Regions from separate parts of the Homo sapiens genome. Here region 1 is linked to region 2. Evidence: promoter capture Hi-C in 16 types of primary human blood cells and fetal thymus (Javierre and others, 2016). All regions are on one chromosome and are shown on one strand. Each heading gives the region's core, a stretch centred on a gene start or on the middle of the fragment in contact. The rest is flanking DNA. Distances are from core to core; before and after follow the strand shown.

What was found. The method cuts DNA at HindIII sites, captures the fragments that hold promoters and counts their contacts. A CHiCAGO score of 5 or more calls a contact.
Region 1: a fragment that was not itself captured here is called in contact with the fragment with the promoter of MIR381HG in region 2 in 4 of 17 cell types (total CD8 T cells, megakaryocytes, erythroblasts and 1 more); the score reaches 6.4 in total CD8 T cells.

Annotation. Positions count from the first base shown.
Region 1 is chr14:101,627,013-101,633,252 of GRCh38, reverse strand. LINC02320 (long intergenic non-protein coding RNA 2320) reads left to right here. Exons shown (of 6, transcript NR_184269.1): 4 at 138-347; 5 at 667-840; 6 at 3,849-4,904. Among named protein-coding and RNA genes, the nearest start is that of DIO3, 69 kb to the right of the region's middle. The HindIII fragment of the contact is 1,032 bases long and covers 1,223-2,254 here.
Region 2 is chr14:101,043,044-101,048,774 of GRCh38, reverse strand. MIR381HG (MIR381 host gene) reads right to left here and starts at 3,618. Exons shown (of 3, transcript NR_104192.1): 1 at 3,591-3,618. It overlaps MIR1185-2 (microRNA 1185-2), which reads right to left and starts at 4,577; the gene lies at 4,492-4,577. MIR381 (microRNA 381) reads right to left here and starts at 2,855; the gene lies at 2,781-2,855. It overlaps MIR1185-1 (microRNA 1185-1), which reads right to left; the gene lies at 5,713-5,731. It also overlaps MIR487B, MIR539, MIR889 and MIR544A. RefSeq lists enhancers at 2,009-2,509, 2,510-3,010. The HindIII fragment of the contact is 10,476 bases long and covers 1-5,731 here.

The sequences.
Region 1 (6,240 bases), core at 489-2,988, 590 kb before region 2:
CAAAATCAAAGGTGGTGTCTAGGCACAGAAATGGCTCCGTGACCTATGTCCCCTTTGTTCTAATCTAGAATCCAGCCAGGAGTATGCGTGTCAGAAGCCAGGGGTGATTGTGTTTTTTCTCCTTCCTCTTTCTTTAGGTCAGGAAGATTCCTGCAGCTGCTGAGTTAGTACTTTTAAGAAAGTACTGGATTCCCTCTCACAATGGGACTTTGATTTTTTTAAGAAAAAGGTTTCATAAGTTTTCAAATAACCTGGAGCAGTTGAGCAAACTTAATGTGCAGCGTGGTCCCTGCTGGCTGGGTTTGAGGGGCTGGGTCTCTCTGAGTGGATGCTGGTGAGGTGCAGAGGTGAGTGAAGGCTTATCCGGGAATGGAGGAGAAGGGGACAGCCTGGGGAATAAAAAAGAACTTTCCGTGAGACGCTGTACCTCAATGCTAGATAATGCCAGGCTGGGCTTTTGCTAGTCTTAAAAACTACATCACGCATGTTATAGGCAAAGGCCGGCAGCCCCTCCCAGGGAAAGCCCTTTGTTTGAGTCCATAGAGACCCCCTATTGCAAGGGCCCCTTTCGTGATTTTTGAGGGGTCTGCAGGAAAAGAGGGCAGAGGTCGTAGTTTGGGGATCGCTGGTGACCATGCACCAACTTTTTTGTTGTTTCCATCTCAGGAAGAAGAAAAGGTGCCTGAGGGCCTGTGTGGAAGGCCTGTCACACAGCACATCCTGGGAAATCTGTCCAGGAAGCAGCCAGGCGGGCATCAGCCAGGCGGGCATCAGCATCTTCACTGTGCAGATGAGAAACTGAGGCCGCAGAGGTGAAGGGACATGCCCAGGATCACTAAGGCAAGACGGGGGAAGAGCAGAGATCTTGGGCATGATCTCGGCTCACTGCAACCTCCACCTCCCAGGTTCAAGGGATTCTCCTGCTTCAGCCTCCCAAGGAGCTGGGATTACAGGTGCCCGCCACCACGCCCGGCTAATTTTTGTATGTTTAGTAGAGACAGGGTTTCACCATGTTGGCCAGGCTGGTCTCGAATTCCTGATCTCAAGTGATCCGCCTTGCTCTGTCCCTTAGGGACCTCAGCTTAGTGTTCCACACACTGGCAGATCGCCTCGTTCTTCTCAGGGCTCAGTGTTTTCCTGAGTCTGAACCACGATCTGGGTAGCCATCCCCTGGCGAGGACCATTCGGGGTTCCAGCAGTCACATGCCACGGTAAACAAGCTTCGTAAACATCCCACGACAAAGGTGGGAGAGAATCCCAGTAGGGACAATGACTACAGGTGGAATTGCTGGGAAAAAGTATGTCGGTTTTAAGTGTTGATAACTGGTCCTTTATTGGTCGTGGTCATTCATTCTTCTGCCAGGCGGGGCTGGTGTTCCTATATCCTCTCCTCACCAACAGAGCGTCTTATGTTTATTTGTTGGCAACGTGGCAGGTGAAACATGTACCCTGTCATTAAAAAAAATTATACTTGGCTGGGCACGGTGGCTCACACCTGTAATCCCAGAGCTTGGGAAGCTGAGGTGGGTGGATTGCTTGAGGCCCGGAGCTCGAGGCTAGCTTGGGCAGCACAACGAGACCCTGTTTCTACAAAAAATACAAAAATTAGTGGGGTGTAGTAGTGCACGCCTGTAGTCCCAGCTACTGGGGAGGCTGAGGTGGGAGGATCACTTGAGCCTGTCTCAGAACAAACAAACAAACAAACAAAAATAAGAAAAAAATACATAGTTTTAAAACAGTTTTAAACACATTTGGGAAAATATAGGCAGTAGAAATAGCAGTTGTGCTGTTAATGCCTCAGACAGGGCTGGGCTCGTAGTAGGTGCTCAATAAATATGTATTAAGTAAGTGAATAAGGAAGAAAATCCCATGGCTCTGCCAACAAGAAACACTTCTGTCAACATTTCACTGTGTTTGTTTTCCTGAGTATTTTTTCCTCTACATAATTTAGCTTTGTTTTCCATTCATTATGCTCACCCGTGCAGACACAGTTTTTAATCTTGTTTCTTTTTTTTCACTTCACGTTGTTGACATGTGTGTTTCTCTCTTCTAAGCAGCGTTTCAGCATCTCTATAAAACCCTCACAGGTATGTGAACCATAGATCATTTGAATCGTCTATTGTGCTTTTAGGCTGTTTTCAATTTTTCTTTTTATAAATGATGCAGCAGAGTATCTTTATGCAGAGACCGTTTCCATACTTCCCCCTGTGCAGAAGGAAAAGTAGGCAGAAGAAAGATTAACTTGGTCAAAGCTTTTAAAATCTGATTTAATACTTCTTAAGAATGATGCACCTTATGAAACAACTTTATATCTGTTGAAAAACCTAGTTCTTTTTTTAATATTGTTTTAAAAAATGACTTGTTCTGAACAATATCCTGTGCCTTTCAGAAGACAGCGACGGATATGAAAGGAGATTTGTTCTCTCCAAGCTCTTAGGAGGCGATCTGGCTCAGGAAACAGACACATCAGATCCGAGCATGTATCTGATGGTTGCTATGGGAACAAGTCATTTAACAGCCACTCAGCTAAAGCATTGATCAATAAGGAAGGGGGCAGGAGGGAAATAAATTAGTTGGTGTCTGAATAGCCCTGAGAGAGAGCAATAATGCGTCCCCTTCCCATGGCAGGGGCCCGGGCAGGAGGCAGGGGCGAAGTCTCGTCCATCCACGCTGGGATGTGTGGGGTAGGAGGGCAGAGGGGGCAGAGAACAGAATCATATTGGGGTGAGAAACCTGCTCCCCAAACCAGATATGGGGCAAGTGAGGCCTTAGACAAGGCTGGGGGCAGGGCTCCCAGGGATGGGGGCACGGCTGGTCCCGCTTCTCCACGCTCCTGTGATGTGCTTGCCGGGCCTGCTGGGATACCCTGTGGCACCCCATCGCTCTAGTGGGGAGTTCCGGTCTAGAGAGGAGCCGTGACTCCTTCCAGGCACATGGTCAACCCCACTTGTCTTCTGGGGGCTCCCAGCCTGGCAGGGGAGAAAGGCAAAGGCCCTCACGGGGTCGTTCATTGATTCATCCACAAATACTTCCTGAGCCTGTCTGAGGGACCATGCTCAGGCCTGGGCAGACAGCAGAGACCCAAGGAAAGAACAGAACTTGGGCTCTGGGGCCAAATCGTGGCTCGGCCACTTGGCAGGCTCTTCACCTGTAACGTGTTGAGAAAGTGACGTAAAGTCAGAGCCAGGAGTGGGCATCCTGAGTGCTCAGCTGCCATTGCTGGGACTCATAATCGCAAGGGAAGGCAGAGACAGAAGTGAGGGTTCCTAAGTGGAAGGTACTCATAAAGCCTTGGCTGAATACGTATGGCTGACACAGGGGTGTCTGTGTTTGCCACCAAAGGGTGGCCCTGGGCTGGGATTACACACGGAGAGAAGGCGGGAGGAAAGTCAGGGAGCCTCAGACCATTGGAGGCTGCATCTATTGACCTCTGATCCCCACAGGCATGGGTGTGGGTGTGGGTGTGGGTGTGGCTGGCTCAAGGGTCAGTGCCCACCAGAGAACTGGACCATAGATGAGCTGGACTTTTCCAACCCTGCCAGCCTGGGCCATCTCAAGGGTGCTATTGGTTGTGAGGGGAGGAGGCCCTCTTTTCTGAGTCCCTCCCCAGATGAGTGCAAGCTGGGACACATATACGAGAAGGATCCTAATAACATGCATGCCAAAATCCTGCTGTCCCAGCCTTTGGTTCCAGCAGTTTGACTTCTGGAAGTCTTTCCCAAGGAAATAACCTTGAACCCACGGTGTCTGCTGTAGCATTCTTCATAAGAGTGACTGCAAACAACCTCTAAGCCCCAAATCATGTATTGGTTAAAAAAATAATGATTCCTTTTCTTGCTTTAACTCAGGTGATCCCTAGAAACACAGCCAGTGGCCCGGAAGCTGCACTGTTTTGTGCACCGCAGGGATGGGCACAGATGGGGCTGCCTGCCCTCCTCCTGGAAGGAGGGAGAACCCAGTCTGGCCTGGAGTGGTCAAGAGCTAACTCTAGACTCAGCAAGACCTACTTCTCTCTCCTGCCCCTACTTCCTTGCTGCTGACCTGGGCAAGTCGCTGAAGCCTCTCCGTGCCTCAGTCTGCTCGTGCGTAAGATGGGCACAGGGCACACTGCCTACTTGATTGGGCTCAACCACGTGCAGTAAGTAGCTGGTGTCTGGCAAGAGCCCTCAGGAAACAGTAACCCCATTAATTCAAATGCACGTGCCTGGAACAGGCTCTGGGGGGCCAGCCCGGGAGTCCCACTCCATGATGGCCACCCTGGGGCCTGGCAGGCTGGGCTGGCATCCCAGGCCCACCGGATACTGGCTGTGCACCCCGGCCAGGCCACACATCTCTGAGCCTCACTTTCCCGTGTGTGAGATGAGGCTAGAAGCTGCTTTCTCTTGCGTGTGTGGGGATTGGCGGTGACAACACGGCCAGGAGCCCAGGCCCAGCCTACGCGAGCAGCCTCGCTCCAGGCCACACGCCCCACTCCTGACAGCTCTGTGCAGCGAGTTCGTGCGCGAGCGGGTGGCTGTCTGCCAGGCGAGGGGCGCGGGTGCCCAAGAGGGCTTCACTGCTTCTGGAAAGATCACAAGGAAAAACCACCTCCGCGGCGGGACGCTACCCGCGGGCCGCTGCGGTCCCGCTCGCGGCCGGCAGGGGGCAGGATGTCCCCGCGAGTCGCCCGTGTCTTCGGGTGTCCTCAGGTCACCCCGCACCGCTCGCAGCCTCCGCGCCTAGTTAAAGGGCGACGCACTCATTTCTGCAAAGAAGGAGCCCAGCGGCCCCTCCCCGGGGAACTCTTTCCATCAACTCGGGGCCTAATAATTTACATTTAATTTGTTAGCGGTTTAATGTTTAATTTTAAAAGCGAGATGATTCATTACCATATTAATAAATAATAACATTTATTATTCTCCTAATGAGTGTCCAAAATACAGAAGCAATTACATGTTTTATATATTTTCTCGTAATTTGAGACACCAGAGCGTTAATTACAGAGACTCACGCGTGGACCCCATTCTGATCCAGGGTCCTGATCCTGCCTTTGTTTCGGTCTCTGAACCAGCCGCCCTCCGGGGCTTCTGCAATTCCCTCAATTAGAGGAGAGGAAGTCGTACGTGACGAAGCTGGGGCTCTCACAGAACCCCGGCGCCCCAGACCCAGGAGCTGCAAGACCTCAGCTCCCCGTGCCCACACTCGGAGACCCAGGCCCCTCCCAGTCCCCCGTCTCCTCTGTGCAGGGTTCTTCAGGAAGAATCGGAAAGAGGCCCCCCGACCCACAACCAGCCTCGCATTCCCTCCTCCCGCAGGGATCCATTGAGCTGGGGGGTGGGACTATCCTCACTTCACAGATGGGGAAACTGAGTCCTGGAGAGAGACGCTCCGGTGTCCTCAGCTGGTGAGGGGCAGATCCGGGAGCCACGTCCCACGCAGTCGGTTGGCCCCAAGCTTGGTTCCTGCCTCAACCCCAGCGCAGGTTGCAGCAGGCCCGCGTAGGAGGGCGGCCTGGGTCTGGACAGATCCACAGCCGGCCAACGCCCCTGGCTAGCTCTCTATGGCTTTGCTTCTTCTCTTGACTTGCCAAGTTCTTCTTGTTCATTGTAGAAAATGTGGAAGGTGAGGCCGGGAGCGGTGGCTCACGCCTGTAATCCTAGCACTTTGGGAGGCCGAGGCGGGCAGATTGCCTGAGCTCAGGAGTTCGAGACCAGCCTGGGCAACATGGTGAAACACGTCTCTACTAAAAAAAAAAAAAAAAAAAAAAAAAAAATTTGCTGGGCGTGACGGCAGGCGCCTGTAGTCCCAGTGGGAGTTTGGGGAGGCTGAGGCAGGAGAATCACTTGAACCCGGGAAGCAGAGATTGCAGTGAGCCGAGATCGTGCCACTGCACTCCAATCTAGCGACAGAGCAAGACTCCGTCTCAAAAAAAAAAAAAAAAAAAAAAGTGGAAGGTGAAAAAAACACGGAGAGACAGCAAAGCTGGCAATGACATAGCTCCAAAAATCCCACTTCTCAGATAAGATGCAGGCAGTAAGGGCCTGGAGTTTTATGTATCCTGATGTTTGAAAGGGCTTGGACAGGGCACTTCCTCCCTCCATAGCTCTTCTGTCCTTAGGAATCCCTCCCTTCTGGAGGGGAAGGGTGGGGGTTTTCCTGTTTGGTCCCCAGGGAAGGAAGTTCAGAGACAGAGGCCCACTCAGGGCCACCCCCTGGCCTGCACCCCTGAAATGCAATTTGGATAATATGGAAAATTACTAG
Region 2 (5,731 bases), core at 2,369-4,868:
GTGAGTGTTGTCCACAGACCGGCGGTATTAGCATCACTTGAGAACTTGCTAAAAATGCAGAATCTTGGTCCCTGAATCAGAATCTGCTTTTTAACAAGATCCCTAGGTGATGAAAATCTTAGGAGCATTTTTAAAGTTTGAGAAACACTACTCTAGCCAACTATTCATATGCACACGCACACAAACACACACACACACACACACACACCCCAGAGGTGCTGTCGACCACAACGTCTTATTCCATGAGAGTCTGTCTAAGATGGGGTGGTTCCCAAGGAAGGCACGAAGCCATGCCACGTCCACCAAGAATAATCCAAATACCCAACAGGCAGCTGCTTAGGAGCTGCCAAAAAGTAGTAATAGTAACAGGAAATGTACGGAGTTTTTACTAATGTTTGCATTCCCTACAGGAAGTGTTTCATACTCAGAATGAAGGCTACAGATAGGAGAGGCTGGACCCAGGTTCCCCGGTCCACCATCTACCTAGAGAGAGGCTTGACCCCGGCATCTCTCCAAGGAATTCCTCGTGGCTAAGATTTAATAACAAGAAGAGAAAGAGAGATGAAATAATTGTGAACATCTTCCAATAAAAAGATATGGCACCAAGCCCCTAAATGGCATCTCCACCCCAAAGCTAGCATTTGTCCAAGGAAATCACACTGGTGGCTTGCATTCTGAGATCACTGGATTCATCATTATAAATCATCAACACAGTCACACTCCATGGTGGGGCAGGCACCAATGTCCCCTCACTGAAGTCAGCACTGTGCTTTCAAAAACTTCTGAAGCAAATTTGGATACTAAAACAATGGTTGTCCGATATTAATCATCATAAATATAGAGACCATACTACGGACAGCCATTCTTTAAGCACCAAAGAACTGTGCCATCAAGAAGAGCTGGGCATCTTCTCCAAAGTTGGTGTCTCTTCCAGAAAGTTCTTCTCAGGTAGTCCAAACAATGAGGATTAGCAGGTCAGCTTCACACATTGAGAGTCAAGCCCATGCCTGGGGGTCAGTCACACTCTTGGGCAGGGGAAGGGGGTCTGGCCCCAATGATCGGTCCCTAAGGTTTGCTTCATGTCCAAGAAGTGCCTCCAAGAAGCAGGATTTGATAAGTAGCTTGAATGCTGCGTCACCCACAACACACACCCATGGCCAATGCAAATCCCTGATAGCACCAAGGAGTCCCGTGGCCCCCTGCCAAGCGTGGCCCCGCCTCCAGGGTTCTGAGGTTAGGGCACAAGTGTCCCCACCACAAACCAACTGCATGCGCCCTCATCCCCACCCAGGCGTGAGCCCCTGGGAAGGGCTGATGCGTGCATCCCTTTACAGAACTTGTCATGGCGTCCAGGAAGTCTGCCGAGGCAAGATTTGATACTCAAAAAGAAATTGTCCTTGTATGATTCATCATAAATAAAGCGAACACACCAAGGATAATTTCTCCTCAAGTATGAAACAGCAGCACGGACCACCACCTCCAGGTCTTTGGCTCAAGGTTAGATGGTGACTGCTTCGTGGCAAACCCAGTCACACACTCGCTCATGCACACACACCACGCACACACAGGCATGCACAATGCATGCACCAAGTTTGACCTCTCTTTAAGCACCAGGGAAGCAAGATGCCATAGAATCCTCACTCAGCTTGGCATCCTCGCTCAAGACTCCTTCAAAGCGTAGATAGTGGCCGAGGTCAAGAACCCAGGGACTGTCTCTCTTAAGTGGAGCAAATGTTCTCGGCACCCCTGCTGACCCCCACTGCATGTGGCATTCTGTATCAAAAGCCACTGTGTGAATGGCTTAGCTGCCAAGCATCAAGAGCATCACTAGCCCCCATTGTAAACACCGTGTATGCTCTGGGCTTCCTAGTCCATTCCATACCCGATGAAGGACTTGACTTCCATGTTTTGACACTGTTCCAAAAACCCATGGAGAGATTTTAGTCATAAAACCACCACCACCACCACCACCACCACCACCAATGATAGTTTCACAGCACACAAGGGTCCTGGCTACCACCTACGAAGTGCCGACCACGGGGCTCTGCTCTGAGCCGTGTACAAGTCTTAACTCGTTCAGCCCCAGCAGCCCCAAGAAATGGACGCCAATGTGATTCCCCTTTGACATGTGAGACAATGGGCACAGCACGATGAGATCCTTGCCCAAGGTTGGACGGTTAGTAAATGTCAGAGGTGGGATCCAAACACAGGAAATCGAGCTCCAGAGTCTGCGCTCTTGATACTGAAAAAGTGGATGACCCTGTACGATTCGACATGAGCAAAACGAACAGGACAGGGATAACCACTCTCCAAGTACCAAAGGTTAGCACGGAAAAGAAAGCCACTGCCTTGGGTGGACTTGGTACGTCTTCAAGGCGCGGTCCTGGGGATGAATTAGATGCTGAGGGTTAGTGGACCGGGTCACATACCCCAAGCAGAACATGCACACTCACGGACCGAGTAACAGCAGGGACCACAAAGCCACTACCCCACACGAGCGCCACCCCAGCCATCGGCCCGGGCTGATGACTTCCCGCTCAGGAAGCAGGGACCCAGACCACACACATCGTGCATGCTTTTGGCCCCGCCCACACTGCACCAGGAGAGGGGATGTCCCAGAGGCCACTGCCTTCCCTAAAGTCATCCAGGTGCCCGTGAAGTCCTCTCTGTGAAGTGGGGACCCGTGAACGATTTGCCACACACAAAACGGATACACACGGTCATGCACACACATACCGCATCCCTTGCTGAGTGTGGACTGGGTCCAAGACAAGGTTTGATACTCACAGAGAGCTTGCCCTTGTATATTCCATGTCAATAAACCGAATATACAAAGGGCAACCTCGCTTTAAGTACCAAACAATAGCACTGGGCAGGTTCCTCACTATCATTCACGGGGCCGGCCTCCTCTCCCGGGGTTCATCCTGGCGGGGGAGGGGGTGGGAGATGCGGGATCAGCAGACCAGGTGGCAAACACCACCTGCCAGCTGTGTGCCCATAGGTCAGCTCTCCATCCCAAAGGGGCCAGGAAGGGGCAGACGCCAGTGCCCCTTCACCAGAATCAGCCTCTTTTCCAGGCATCACTCCAGATTAGAACTTGTTCCTGAAAAGGAGATCCACCCCACGGGCCTTCCTGGGCACACGCAGAGCTCAGCTTCTCACTTTCTATAGGAATTCCCTGGGGTGGGACCACCATCTCCTTCCCAGTGTGGGCACCTCTCCAGGAAGTTTTCCTAAGGATGCACTCAGCACCGAGGTCCCAGGCACTGGATGAATTTACACCTTAGACAAAGCAAAGGCCCTGTGGTCACCATCCCTTCATCCATCTCACAGAGCCGTTGACACCAGTGTCATTCTCCATGCCAGCCCTTGCCCCACCCCTGCCAGAGGCTGGCATCGTGGCCATGAAGCCATGCTAAGAAAGAGCACAGGGTCAACAGTAGTAAACCCCACGTACCCCCAAGTAACTGAGGAAGCAGACCCACAGCCCATTCCCCACAGTGGTCTCTCCTTCAAGAAGGGGAGAGGAGCGGGAGCCGCCTGGTCCAGGTGGCAGGTTATGTGACTCATTACCCAGGCGTGGTGCTCACCTCTCTTCAGCTGGACGTTCGCTTTCCTTGGGCTGAGGATGCTGCGAATGTCCTTCCTGAAGCTGGCTTCGGGTCCAGATGACCCCCATGGCAGTCGGGGTGTAAAAAGCCGGCAGTCACACGGCCCAAGGAGTGTCTCCACAAACACAGAACAAGAGTCCCATTCTCAGGCAGCCATCCTAGGTGTGAGCAGAAAGCCAGCAGTCAGAGACGGGGCACAGACATCGAGGCAGAAGCAGGCGCCCTCTGACCTCCCACATGCACGCACCTGGTGCGGGGCTGACAGCTCCCACGGCTCATCCCCAGCGCTGCCTTCATGGGCAATCACAAATGACAAATAGAAGCAAACCATTCTTACAGATTCAGCCTGGGGACTGCGAGCTGGATCATGAACACCCAAGCATCAAAAAAAAAAAGCGCTGATGAGCACACCTCAGCCCCTTCCCCAAGGTCAATACCACCTCCAGGAAGCCCTCCTGGGGCTGGCCTACCAGGCTCGAAAACAGCATAGACAGAGCCAGTGCTCCGTGGTCCACCATCACTGCTGTCTGTGTTCCCCTTGAAATGATCCAACATCCAGGTCCCCCTTCTAAGGCTGATGCTGGGAACAGGAAGCCTTCTGTGTATGACTTGGTACCAAGAAGAGGCAGATCAATGTGTGATTTATCCTTAAAAAAGCAAACCACCATTAAACTTGGAGCACACAAAAAGGTCCCTCCTCTCCCACTGCTTCCAGGGAGTCCACAGGAAGAACCAGCATAGAGGGCGAAGGCAGAACCCAGGGGCAGCGTCACAGCCAACCTCACGTTCCCGGACATGGAAGCCAGGCCATACCTGAGAGGGGCTGACATCCGAGGCTTTGTCCTGGAGACAAGCAGGGTATGAGTGTCTTCTCCGACAGTTTGATACGCAAATGAGAGTCTCCCCCTGTATATTCGCCATTAATCAAGTGAACATACAAAGGGTATCCTCTCTTTAAGTACCAAAGGGTGGCTCAAAGAGCAGGTGAGGACCATGCCGGGTCTTTGCCGGAGTGGACATCTCCTCCTGCGAGGCCTGAGACCAAGGGGGAGGGGCCCGGTGACAAGCCTCATCTGGCTGACCCTGGAGCTGGGCCTGCACCTTGCACATTGTGGCCTGGCCCCGAAAGGTGGCACATCCAGGACTCCCTGCAGGCGAGACTGGCTTCTAAACAAGGGAACAGGTAGGCATGACTATCAGTGTGCTCAGCATGCATGGGTGAACCTGCTTCAAATACCCACAAGCTACATGGACAATGGAACCATCACCTTTCTCCAAAGGGGCACAGGGTGTGAGGGCTCAGCCCGGCAAGACATGGAGTTATCAGAGAAGAAGGCATCTGCAGGCATTCTCAGAGCTGGAGAGCGCTGAGACAATGTCTCTCCTCTGAGGCTGGTTGTCCTAGAGATGACCAGATCCAAGAATGTGTCACCTGTACCTACCTCGAAACAAACAAAAAGAGGGCCCCAGCGTCAGACTCTAGCGACAAAGGAGTCCTGAAGACCAGACACACCTGCCCAAGGCACACTCAGGTGCAATCACTGGACAATGTGCTCCGAGGACTGGCCATTGGAGTCCAGCGACAGTCCCAGAGGGCACAGGCAGGCTCAGGGAGCTCCACCAGTAACTTGCCTTAGAACAACCTGACATCCATGTGCTTCCCTCAAGGCTGACACTCTCTCAAGGATGGAGACCACCAGGGAGTGGCAGGTCAGGGGAGTAGCAGGTGAGAAGCAGCATCAGCTCTGCGCTCCACCATCCACCACCCATTCGTGTGTCCGGAGAGGTGCGAGGTTAGTGCTGGACGCAGGAAGCCCTCTGGGTATGACTTGGTATGGAGAAGAGGCAGATCCATGTGATTTATCCTTAAAAAAAGCAAACCACCATTAAACTCAGTGCACACAAAAAGGACCCTCCTCTCCCACTGCCTCCAGGGAGTCCACAGGAAGAACCAGCACAGAGAGCGAAGGCAGAACCCAAGGGCTAGGATCACAGCCAAGCTCACGTTCCCAGACAGGGAAGCCAAGCCGTACCTGAGAGGGGCTGACATCCGAGGCTTTGTCCTGGAGACAGCAGGGTCTGAGCGTCTTCCTCGACAGAGTTTGATACGCAAATAAGAG